Regions from separate parts of the Homo sapiens genome. Here region 1 is linked to region 2. The links are contacts of gene promoters, found by promoter capture Hi-C in human tissues and cell types (Jung and others, 2019). All regions are on one chromosome and are shown on one strand. The core of a region is centred on a gene start or on the middle of the fragment in contact, and the rest is flanking DNA. Distances in the headings are between cores, read along the strand shown.

The links. Contacts are between HindIII fragments. The study calls those that stand out against the background at their distance.
Region 1: a fragment that was not itself captured here is called in contact with the fragment with the promoter of FBLL1 in region 2 in 1 of the 25 tissues and cell types used here (spleen).

What each region holds. Positions count from the first base shown.
Region 1 is chr5:169,588,088-169,593,673 of GRCh38, reverse strand. SPDL1 (spindle apparatus coiled-coil protein 1) reads right to left here. Exons shown (of 12, transcript NM_017785.5): 2 at 5,099-5,280; 3 at 2,450-2,626; 4 at 126-320. The coding sequence starts at 5,257. Among named protein-coding and RNA genes, the nearest start is that of SPDL1, 7.1 kb to the right of the region's middle. The HindIII fragment of the contact is 6,144 bases long and covers 1-4,753 here.
Region 2 is chr5:168,527,436-168,533,198 of GRCh38, reverse strand. FBLL1 (fibrillarin like 1) reads right to left here and starts at 3,894. Exons shown (of 1, transcript NM_001355274.2): 1 at 2,565-3,894. The coding sequence starts at 3,694. The coding sequence ends at 2,690. RefSeq lists enhancers at 2,021-2,190, 3,046-3,587 and a silencer at 4,441-4,735. The HindIII fragment of the contact is 8,115 bases long and covers 1,341-5,763 here.

The DNA of each region.
Region 1 (5,586 bases), core at 432-2,931, 1.1 Mb before region 2:
ATGCAAGTTAGGTCAAAAAATGTTTCAGCCTTCAAACTAGCTCTTAAGAATTATTACCAAAACATGTAAAAATATGCCAGAAAAAAAAAGAGAAAACCCTGAGAAACACATGCCATAAAAATTACCTTCATACTCTCCATTTCTGTCAGCTCAATTTGAAGAGCCAGCATCTCTGAAGACATGCTTTCCTGCACACGTTCAGACATTACGCGCAGTTCCTCTGATTTACAAGAGAGGAGTTCCTTCTGATGATCTACTTGGTGCTTCAGCTGCTTTTCACTAAGCCTGGCTTCATCTAATTCCACTTTCAGTTTTTCTATCTAAAGCCAAAAAAAAAAAAGTCATAAATTGAAAGTTATTTTCTTTCTAAAAACAATCACTGATTGAACTGATTGAACCAAACTTACTGAATGATGATACTATTGGAGTTTCCTATTTGCCCAAGGTTAGGCATCTTTTAACAGCTAGTGACACACCTTGTTTAATAAACATAGAAATAATCCATGAGTAATCGGGGTGGGTCTGGATGCCTCAGAAGCAATCTGGAGGCACTATGATGCGGACCACTTGGCTACTGTGTGAAGAATGACTGGCATGAAGAGAAACAATGGAAGCAAGCAACCTGGTCAGAAGGCTACAGCAGTAGTCCAGGAAAGAGATGATGAAGGTCTGGATTGGAGTGGCAGTAGCGTCATAGATGTTTTGTAGGTCAAGTTCTTAGAACTTGATGAATTAAATGTGAAAAATAAGAGAAGAAAAGGTATTAAAAAAATCCAAATTTTGGCATAAGTGATTTGAGAAAATCAGTAAAACAAAATATTTCACTAATGTACTCTTTGCTCCACCAAAAAAAAAAAAAAAAAAAAAAGCCATCTCTATAATTAGCCTTACCTCAGTCCTGAATACTCCCTTTATTACTCTTTTTTGTTTAGGTGATGAAAACTATTGCAAAAATAAAAATAACAACCAGAGGGGGAAGAAAGCACATCATTATCAGTCATTAGGGCCTCAAATCCGACTAGTTTCAGACAAGCTGGATGATATTATCTGTCAGAGTGGTATGCAAGATGATTATATATTACATGAAGGTATATTTAGATAGCTATGTTTGTTTTAGTGTATACTGGGAAAAAATAAGCAAGCTTAAATATGTAATTTTGGCCAGGCGCAGTGGCTCAGGCCTGTAATCCCAGCACTTTGCGAGGCTGAAGTGGGCGGATCACGAGGTCAGGAGTTAGAGACCAGCCTGACCAACATGGTGAAACCCTGTCTCTATTAAAATACAAAAATTAGCTGGGCGTGGTGGCGCACACCTGTAATCCCAGCCACTTAGGAGCCTGAGGCAGGAGAATCGTTTGAACCCGGGAGGCAGAGGTTGCAGGTGAGCCGAGATCATGCCACTGCACTCCAGCCTGGGCGACAGTGTGAGACTCTGCCTCAAAAAAAAAAAAAAAAAAAAGGAAAAAAAAATACTTTCATTGATGTTTCTTAAAATCAGTAAACATTAAAAGAGAGTCAATGAGAAATTAAGTAATAGTATAGGTGGTATACAGAAAAAGAAAAATCTTAGAGGCTGCTATACAAGAAGCTGAAAATTGGGTAACAGACTTCTGAGAAAGGAGGACAAAAGTCAGGCAAGTTTTGGTAGACAGTGTCTGGAAAAGTCAGAGTATAGACTATACACAAAGCAGATCCATGATAAAAAGTTCTGGATTCCTCAGAAGCAACCTGAAAGCACTGGCTAGCTGGGAAAAGGGAAAACCACTGACCAATCATTTATCTTGCGTTTATGTTTGAAATGGAGCCAGTGTAACATGCTGTTAGACTATGTAGTGATTCAGTAACACAGCCTTTGGAGTCAGACAGCCTCAGTTCAAACCTAGATGGAGAATTTCTAGTTCTTGAATTGTGTCCAATTTACTCAGTCTGTCTAAACACTGGCTCTTTCATCTGGTATATGGAAATGATAATGGTACCTTTCCACAATATTATTGTAAGAACTGGAGCACATGTATTAGTTTATCCTCAGTAAACAAACTATAAAGTGTCATTTGTAATGCACATTAACTAGTAAGAAACTACTGGTCTGTTTTACAGAATTACAAAGCATACCACTGACTGCAGGGAAGGCTAGGAGACGAGGCTTTCTGCAAGGGGCTGCTGTACCCACTATCAGCAAGGAGGCCATGCTAGTCACTAAACTAAACCTTCACAAATATCCAGCAACCAAAATTAAATAATTGTATTTAATTAATAGGATATAATTTATACAAGTCCCTTAGACAAACTCTTGTATCTCAGTGTTCCCACCCCCAATATTAAGATAATGAAGACTTAGATCTTGGCTATTTTGCAAAGCTGACACTTAAGAAAATCTTTATCATCTAAAGTTTACAGATGGCTGCATAAATATGGAATATTTTGTGCTGAAATACGCAGATATCCCAACCTTAGTTTTTAGTTCATTCACTTCCTGTCCATGGCTTCTGCTTAGTTGTTCTTCCAATTTCTCCAGGTGCATTTTTTGTTGTTGTTTAATAGCTTCACATTCGCAGCTCAAACTTTCTAACATTCGACTCTTGAGTTCAACTTCTCTTTGAAGGGTATATTTTTCTTGTTCATAACTCTGAAAACAGATTCAATTACAATTCAATTACATAAAAATAGCCTAAAGCCATTACATACAATCAGTTTTCAACTTCAATTGTTTCATTCTTATTTCAAGCATTTGCTGCTTTCCAAATAACGAAGACATGTTAAACCTGGAATAACTTTGTAGTTAATCAGTCTTAATAAACCCCTGAGGTGTATTTCGAAACTATGTTAAACCCATGCAAGGGATACCTTACTGCTTCTGTGCCTTGTCAAGGAAGTAAAATGTGCTCCATGGTATGTCAACACGTCAAGTCAAGTAATCTCTGCTAACAACAAAAAAAGATTTAACAGCACTTAAGCTTTCCTCATGAGAATTATTAGTTTGATAATGAGATGCTCTACTTGTAGCTCTGAACACAATGTAGTAGTAATAATAGTTGAAAAAAAAGAAATACTGAATTAGCCTTTACTTTCAGAATGTAGTCATCTGAGAAATGTCACAAAAGGTCTATCAGAATGAATGCAGAGCTGAGACAAAAGGAGTAATTAAAAGGGCTTTTGCTTACTCACAGGGAAGTTTAGACATTAAAAATGTTACAAGTACGAACTCCTTCAAGAGGCTTTAAAAAATGATAAAATATTCCCCTCAAAAACCATTTTATTTTAAAGGAAGACAAAGAGTATTAACTGTTAAACACTGAAATTTGACAAGTTATGACTCAAAATGATTAAGTATAACAGTTTTATTTTCTATTAGTGATATTTGTAATCTTTACTTTGCCTTTATGACTTTGCACTCAGTTCTTGGTTTACAACAGTACTATGTAGAAACACAAAGGTTGCCATCACTAGTTATTTTTACCTGCTACAGATATTTTTTACCTGCCATATTTACAATGTTGAGATTCAAGTTTAAATATGTTACTGAGCATTTGCTAAATTACCCAGATTTATTCATTCATTCTTTTAAGAAATAATCGTGTGGCAGGCATTCAGGATAGTGAACAAGGCATACAAAATTCCCTCTCTCATGGAGTTTATAATCTAGAGATAATTAGCAATGCAGATAATTAAGAGTGGAATCAGGGCCGGGCACAACGGCTCATGCCTGTAATCCCAGCACTTCGGCAGGCAGATTACGTGAAGCCAGGAGTTCAAGACCAGCCTGGTCAACATGGTGAAACCCCATCTCTACTAAAAACACAAAAATTAGCCGGATGTGGTGGCACACATCTGTAACCCCGAGCTACTCGGAAGGCTGAGGTAGGAGAATCTCTTGAACCCAGGAGGTGGAGGATGCAGTGAGCCAAGATTGCGCCACTGCACTCCAGCCTGGGCGACAGAGTGAGACCCTGTTTCAAAAAAAAAAAAGAAAAAAGAAAAAAAAAGTGAATCAGGGCAACTTTACATTACATAGTAAGGGCTGACCTCTCCGCTGAAGTGACATTTAAATGAAAGCTGAAATCTGAGGACTCAACCCAAGAGCAGTGAGGGGTAAACAACTCAAAAAAAAAAAAAAGGCAATAGCTGGTGTAAAGCCCATAAGGGAGGACCAGTATAGTCAAGAACAAGGCAAAGCAGTTTGAGGTGAGGTCAGAAGCTTGGCAGGGGTCAGGTCACATAGGGATCTACAAACCCAAGGATGGAGCTCAGATTTTGTTGTAAATAAAATCAGAAGCTGTTGTATGGTTTTTAGCAGGGCTGTGGCATGACCTTTGGTGTGTTATTCCACGACCACTTAGACGCTGAGTGAAGAATGAATGGCATGAATGGCAACAATGGAAGCAGGCAACCCGGCCAGAAGGCTACAATACTTGTCTAGGAGTGATGATGGTGATCTGGACTACAGTGCCAGTAGCAAAGATACATGCTTTGTAGTCTAGTTCTTAGAACTTATTAATGAGTGAAATGTGAGAAATAAAGGGAAGATATTGACTAAAAGTTCTAGATTTTTGGTATATAAAGAAACCAAAAATATACCAAAAATCTTTGGTATATAAAGATTTTTGGTGTTCAAGAAACTGAATGCTATTATATTTACTAAATAAGCTAAAAAAAATCGTAAAAGAATATTTGGTTAACGGACAGGGAATCCACTCTTCTGTCTGTGTTAAGTTTGAGAAGTCTATTAGTGGGCAGTTGAACACAAACCTAGATTTCATGGGGGAACTAAGGGCTTGGTGTAGTGTCATGGGGCACTTAGATGTTTAGAGGTCTAAAACAAGTGAGGTCTTCTAGGAAGTGTGCAGACAAAGCAAAATCTGGTAGTAAATGTGGCAAAGAGAGTAATGATAACTTGATCTTTCAAACTCTGAATACACTAGGGTGGAAAGAATAACAGGAATTCATTTAGTTCATTCTTTTTTAACAGGGACGGGGCAGGGCGGGAACTAGATCTAAAATCTTCAGAAAAGAATAAACTACTACTACTATTAATTGCTAAACAGGACAAATCTTCAATAGCTAAGCACACTCTTGCAGACAGAGGAGTCCAGAGTCCTACCTCAGTCATGGTCATCATTTCATTACGACATTTATCCAATTGATTCTGTAATTCATTTTGACTCTCTACTAGTTGTAAACCATACTGTGCAGCTTTTAGTCGCTCTTCTTCAGCCTCTTTGAGCCTGCATCGAAGATTTGTGATTATATCTGCCTCCATGTTCTTTTCTTTTTTTTAGCCAACTGTAAATAGAGGAAATAAAACTACTTAAGCTTATACAAAAAACTCCATGCAATAATATCAATAACAGAAGAAACATATCTACTCAATACTACTGTCGTATAAAAACATTAAAATTTTCTTCCTGACTAATAAGTAGTCAAATTTGCATTCTTGTTCCAAGAGCAAGAACTGTTCTGACAATTCTGTTACTGATTTGGGATCAAAAATTAAAGAGTGGAATAGAATACATTTAATTTTGCTTCTAAACAGTTCACCATCAGAAAACTGTTCAGTTGTTGTATGCTAAGCTTCCAATATGTTAAGGT
Region 2 (5,763 bases), core at 2,645-5,144:
TATTTTTTGTATTTTTAGTAGAGATGGGGTTTCATATGTTGACCAGGCTAGTCTCGACTCAAGGACTCAAGTTATCCATGTGCCTTGGCCTCCCAAAGTGCTGGGATCACAGGCATGAGCCACTGTGCCCAGACTATAGTCCCATTCTTTTCCCTGCCATCATCCTCTAAAACCAGGTTCCAGCTCCCTTCCTGTATTCCCTTGGCCCTTATTCCTATATTTTTCCTGGTACTCACCATGTCATTCCATTGGCTCAGGAACTCATCTGCAATGCAGGGAAATTCTTCAGGAGATTGTTTTGTTGCCATTTCCTCATGAATGGTTCCCTCTTTGAGAAGCTTCAGACATGACTTTAAATTTCACTTGCGGCAGGAGGGGCAGGGAATGGGAGTTCCCATGCCAAGGAAGGAGGTAGAGTTTCCCCTGCTTCATCCCCCATGCTGGGGGGAAAAACCTTTAAGGAGCAATCAAGAGCTCCTTTATGGAGCCCATCTGGCTCTGAGGAGGGGCTGGGTCATGGGCCTCAGCTGCTGCAGAGCCCCTCCCTCCTGAGTACCCAGCTGCTTCTGTCTTCCCCTAGTGAGGAAACAGTTCCTGTTCCCAGGGAGTCCACCCCAGCCTCAGGGCTTCATCACAGCAACTAATAAATTAGCCTAGGATTGGAGAGAGGGCTTTTCAAGGCAACAGAACCAGCACAGACTTCAGTGAAAATGACATAGGTTTTGGAGTCAGACTAACAAAGCTGTGATTTCTGGCTGTGAGCCTTTCTGGGGGATCTTAAACCAGGCACTTTCATCTCTGAACTGCAGTGTTCTTATATGCTAAATAGGAAAAGTGATCCTGGCTTTGCAGGGTTGTAATGAAGATTTCCATTGTTTATGGAAATAGACATGTACGGCATTCACTCTCTTCTTCCTGAGTCAGTCTTGCTGATACATCTGAACTGTAATTCCCTTTCTGAATTTTGGGGTGGCGTAGGATGGGGGAGTGGTGAAAGAGTGGCAGCCTTTTCAAAAGTCTGATTTGGACCAGGTGCCATAGCTCACGCCTCTAATCCCAGTGTGGGAGTCTGAGGCAGGAGGATTTCTTGAAGCAAGGAGTTCAAGACCAGCCTCGGCAACAAAGCGAGACACTGTTTCTCCACAAACATTTTTTTTTTAAATTAGCCAGGTGTGGTAGGCTGAGGCAGGAAGATCACTTAAGCCTAGGAGTTCAAGGCTGCAGTGAGCCATGATTGCGCCACTGCATTCCAGCCTTGGCGACAGAGCAAGACCTGTCTCAAATAAAATAAATAAAATAAAACAAAAATAAAAAGTCTGATTTATCCTTTGTTGTTGTTCAAGAAGTATGCCCTCAGAAAAAGCAGACTAACCACAATTGCTGCCCAAGCACATCTTTAGAAAGGCAAATCCACCCTCCAAATGATACATTAGTGAGCAATCATTCAAAGACTAAATGTTGATGTGGGTCTTTTTGGCAGTTGGGAGTGTGTATGCATGCATGCATGAATGAATGAAAAGTCTGGCTTGGAGGGATTTACTGGGCCTTTGGGGCATTCTCAGCTTTCCTCGGATTACCCACTCTCCCTTCCCTTTGGGCTGCTTTGGAGAGAGACTGCGAGGTACTGAGACCAGCAACTTGGGAAGTGCAGGACATGCCTTGCAAAGACAGATACTTTCTGGGAGTAATTTGTCTGCCTGTTCTGCAGACACTTGGTGATACCACTTTGGGTATGTTATGCCCTGTAGTAGAGACAGTCTGCTAGCTAGACCCACATCTGCCCCGCATCTTGTTTTGCTATTGTGAAACCAAACAAAGGGGTAGCCCGGGGGGGACAGGGGAGGGCGAAAGAACACAATAAGGTCACAGGGCCCTGCTCTAAGTGTGTCCCTGTGCACATGCCATAGGGGTTGGGGACCAGAGACAAGATCCCCCTGGTGCTGAGGAAACAGCAATGGATTTAGAGCCCCGAAGACTGGCATTTAAGTTCTACCTCCTTACTGGCTATGTACGTTTGGGCAAAATAGTTTACCTTCAGAAGCCCTGTTGCTTCACATGTAATATGCAAGTGCTAACAAAGCCATCTCAGGGCTGGTGTGAGGAATAAATTTAACATTTATTTATTATTCACTTTAACAGTGAATGCAAAAGGGCTTAGTTGAAGAGTAAAATACTAAAAACCTATTGTGGTTAAGACTTTGGCTGTGAGTCAGATGATTGGTGTGTTTGACTATATTATTGTCCACCAACATTCAGTGTTTTTCCCGAGTCAGGCTGGGTCATGTGACTTGGCCAAATGTGAGCAGAAGTGCCCCATCAGTTCCAAGGGGACATTTAAAAGCTTTTATTAGCAATTCCGCAGCTCTCTTTCCTCTGCCCTAGGGATGGGGGGAGCATGTGTGAAAATGGGGCCCTGGGGAGTTGGAGACCTGAGTGATTAGAATGAGCACAGCTCCCAGGCTACTGCTGGATGGGCCCCTTATACCAGCCGGTTTAGGCCACTGGGATTTGGGGGTTGATTGTTACTGCAGCAAAACCTAGCCTGGCATCACCATACAGATAGGTGCCGTTTCTTTATGCAGTTTAATAGAAAAACAACAAAACAAAACACTCACAAAGAAAACACACAGAAAATAATAGCAAACACAACGCAGCCTTGGGGAGATGGCAGGCGAGCCTGAGCTGGGTGCTATTTGCTGCTGCTCTTGGGAAGAGGTCGGTAGACCCCGACCACCACAGCGTGGTCCCGCTCATAGGGCTCCAGGGTCAGCTGCTCTTGAGGCTTCAAGTTCTCCTGCTGCAACTTCCTCACCTCAGAAGCAAACACAGCCTCGGCGGATGCGGTGGAGTCGATGCAGTTGGCCTTGATGGAGATGAGAAAGTGGCCCCCATTGCGCAGGAAGGTGTGGGCGTTCAGGGCCACGATGCGGGACTGGTCCGGCTGGGCCACGTCGGCGAAGATCACGTCCACCATCCCGATGAGCATGCGGTACTTGAGCGGGTGCCGCGCGTCCTCCAGGACCGGAATGATGTTGGTGCGCTTCTTGGCCACGTTGACCAGATCGCGGCCGGCGCGGTGGGAGAACTCGACGGCGTAGACCAGGCCGTCTGGGCCAATGATGTCGGAGACATGGGAGACGGTGGTGCCCGACGCGGCGCCCAGGTACAGCACCTTGGACTTGGGCTTGATGTGGATCTGGTCCACCCCGCCCAGGATGGCCGCGGCCAGCTTAGAGCGGAACGGGTTCCACGTGCGGTACTCCTGCTTCACGCCGCCCTCGGTCACCGTGACGCGCCTCTCGCCGTACACAGACTGGCCCGGCACCATGTTCAGCGTGACCAGCGCGTCCTCCGCCCCGCGGTAGATGAAGACGCCCTCGTGCCGGTGCGGCTCCACCGACACCACCATGGCGCCCTTCCTGCGGCGGCTCTTGCTCTTGGCCACGCCGCCCCGCCGCTGTCCACCGCCGCCGCGATCCTTGCCGTCGCCGCCGCCGCGCCCCCGGCCCCGGCCGCCCCCGCCGAAGCCGCGCGCCCGCGCCCCGAAGCCGCCCTTGCCCCCCTGGCCGCCGCCGTCGCCCCCGCCGCCCTTGCCCGCGCCGCCGCCGCCGCCTCGGCCCCCGCCCCAGCTGCCCCAGCCGCCGCCCCCGCGGCCGCCCCCACCGCCCCCGCGCGAGCTCGCGGCCGACTTCATGGCACGCACCGGGGCGGGTGCCGTGGGTTACCGGTGCCTCGGGGCGGGTGTCAGGGGGCTCTGGTGGCTCTGGGTGGTCGTCCCGGCGGTTGTCCGCGGGTTTAGCAGCGGAGGCGGGCGGCGGGCGGCGGGCGGCGGGGGCAGGACGGGCTCTACCGCAGTGCCCGCATCCCGGAGCCGCCCCTTGACGCAGCGGCTGTGGCGCGATTGCATCACACCCGTCCCCGCGACCCTGCGGCCCGGAAGCCCCGCTTCCCAGCCCGCGTGCAGACGCAGCCTGCTCCTCTTCGCTCACCCTGCCCCTTCCCCATCTCCCGCCTTCCCAGGGATCCCTGGCACTTCCCTGGGCCACAGGGACGGGGGCGTCTCTGCTGCAGGAGAGGGGGAGGTAAGCATCAGCGTCGGTCCTGGCTGTGCCACCAGTTCTGGGACTATTGATCAGCAAGGAAGTGTTGTTGATTCTTCAGTGTGAATGGGGATACACAGAGAGCCAAAATGTCATGTTCATCCTCGAAGTCTAGTCTATGCTTCAAAGTCACTCTCTAAATCTGCAGCATTTTCTTGAGGAAAGAAAGAAAAAGAGAAAAAGAAAGAAAGAGAGAGAAAGAAAAGAGAGAGAGGGAGAGGAGAAGAAAAGAAAAGAATAATTGGGCAGCACCAAGGGCAGCAACGAGAAGAAAAGAAAAAAAGAAAAGAACAGAAAGAAAATAAAAGAATAACTCGGCACCACCAATGGCCCCAAGGCCGCAACGCAGAGGCTTTAGGGTTTAGTCAGCACCAGGGACAGCGACAGCAGTTGGGGCCCCCGTTTTGGCTACTGCTAGGGGCTTTGGGAACCACACAAGAGCTGGGGAAAGTAGGATAGGTGGTGAAACAACTGGCCAGCCTCCCGTTAGTTGAATTAAGTGTCTACTCGAGAGAGAGAGAGAGAGAGACAACGCGCACCTGAAGATCGGAGCATTTACTGAACACCTGGTATGTGCAGTATGACTTCCGTTCCATCCTGGACCACAGCTCTTCCCGTCTCATACTCATGGACGACAGTGCCAGGTCTGATTTTCCCTGAGGACTGGAGTGTCTCCTTAATGGGGACCAGAGTTTTATACACTGGAATGTGAACAAGGGATCAGTGAGTGAAATGTATGATTCCTGAGGTTGAATGGTTCACATAAAATACTCTACTTAGAGGTTTCCATTCTTGCTATAAGGTGAATATTTTCCAAAATGATGAACTACACTTGGTGTCTGTGAGGGTTAATTTTATGTGTCAACTTTACTGGGCCATGGGATGCCCAGATATTTGGTCAAATAGTATTCTGAGTGTTTCTGTGAGGGTGTTTTTTGATGAGATTAACATTTAAATTGGTATATTGAGTAAAGCTGATTGCCGTCTACGATGTGGCTGGGCCTCATCTAATCAGTTGAAGGCAGAAATAAAGCAAAATGCTGACCTTCCCCACGGAAGAGAGAATTCTCCTGCCCAAGGGCCTTTCAACTGGCACATCAGCTCTTTCTGCCTGACAACCTTTGGACTGGGACATTGGCCCTGCGGATTTTGGACCTGCTGGTCTCCACAATCACATGAGCCAATATATATCCTATATATACACACATATATATATCCTACAGGCCTGTGTCTTTGGAGAACCTTGAATAATAGAGATCCTGAGACAAAGCCTTGAGTCCAATTGGTTTGTGAGGTGATCCCAGGAAGCACATGTTGGGGAGGCAAAAATGAGATAGAGAAGATAGAAAGGTTAAGAAAGAACTGGGCACAGTGCCTCACACCTGTAATCCCAGCACTTTGGGAGGCCAAGGTGGGAGGATTGATTGAGCCCACGAGTTCAAGACCAGTCCTAGCATGATAGCAAGACCCTGTCTCTACAAAAATAAACAAGACTTAGCCAGGTGTCATGGTGTGTACCTGTAGTCACTGTAGTACCTGTAGTCACTGTAGTACCTGTAGTACCTCAGCTACTGAGGAGGCTGAGCTGGAGGGGTCGCTTGAGCCTGGGAGATCAAGGCTGCAGTGAGCTGAACTCACACCACTACACTCCAGCTTAGGTGAC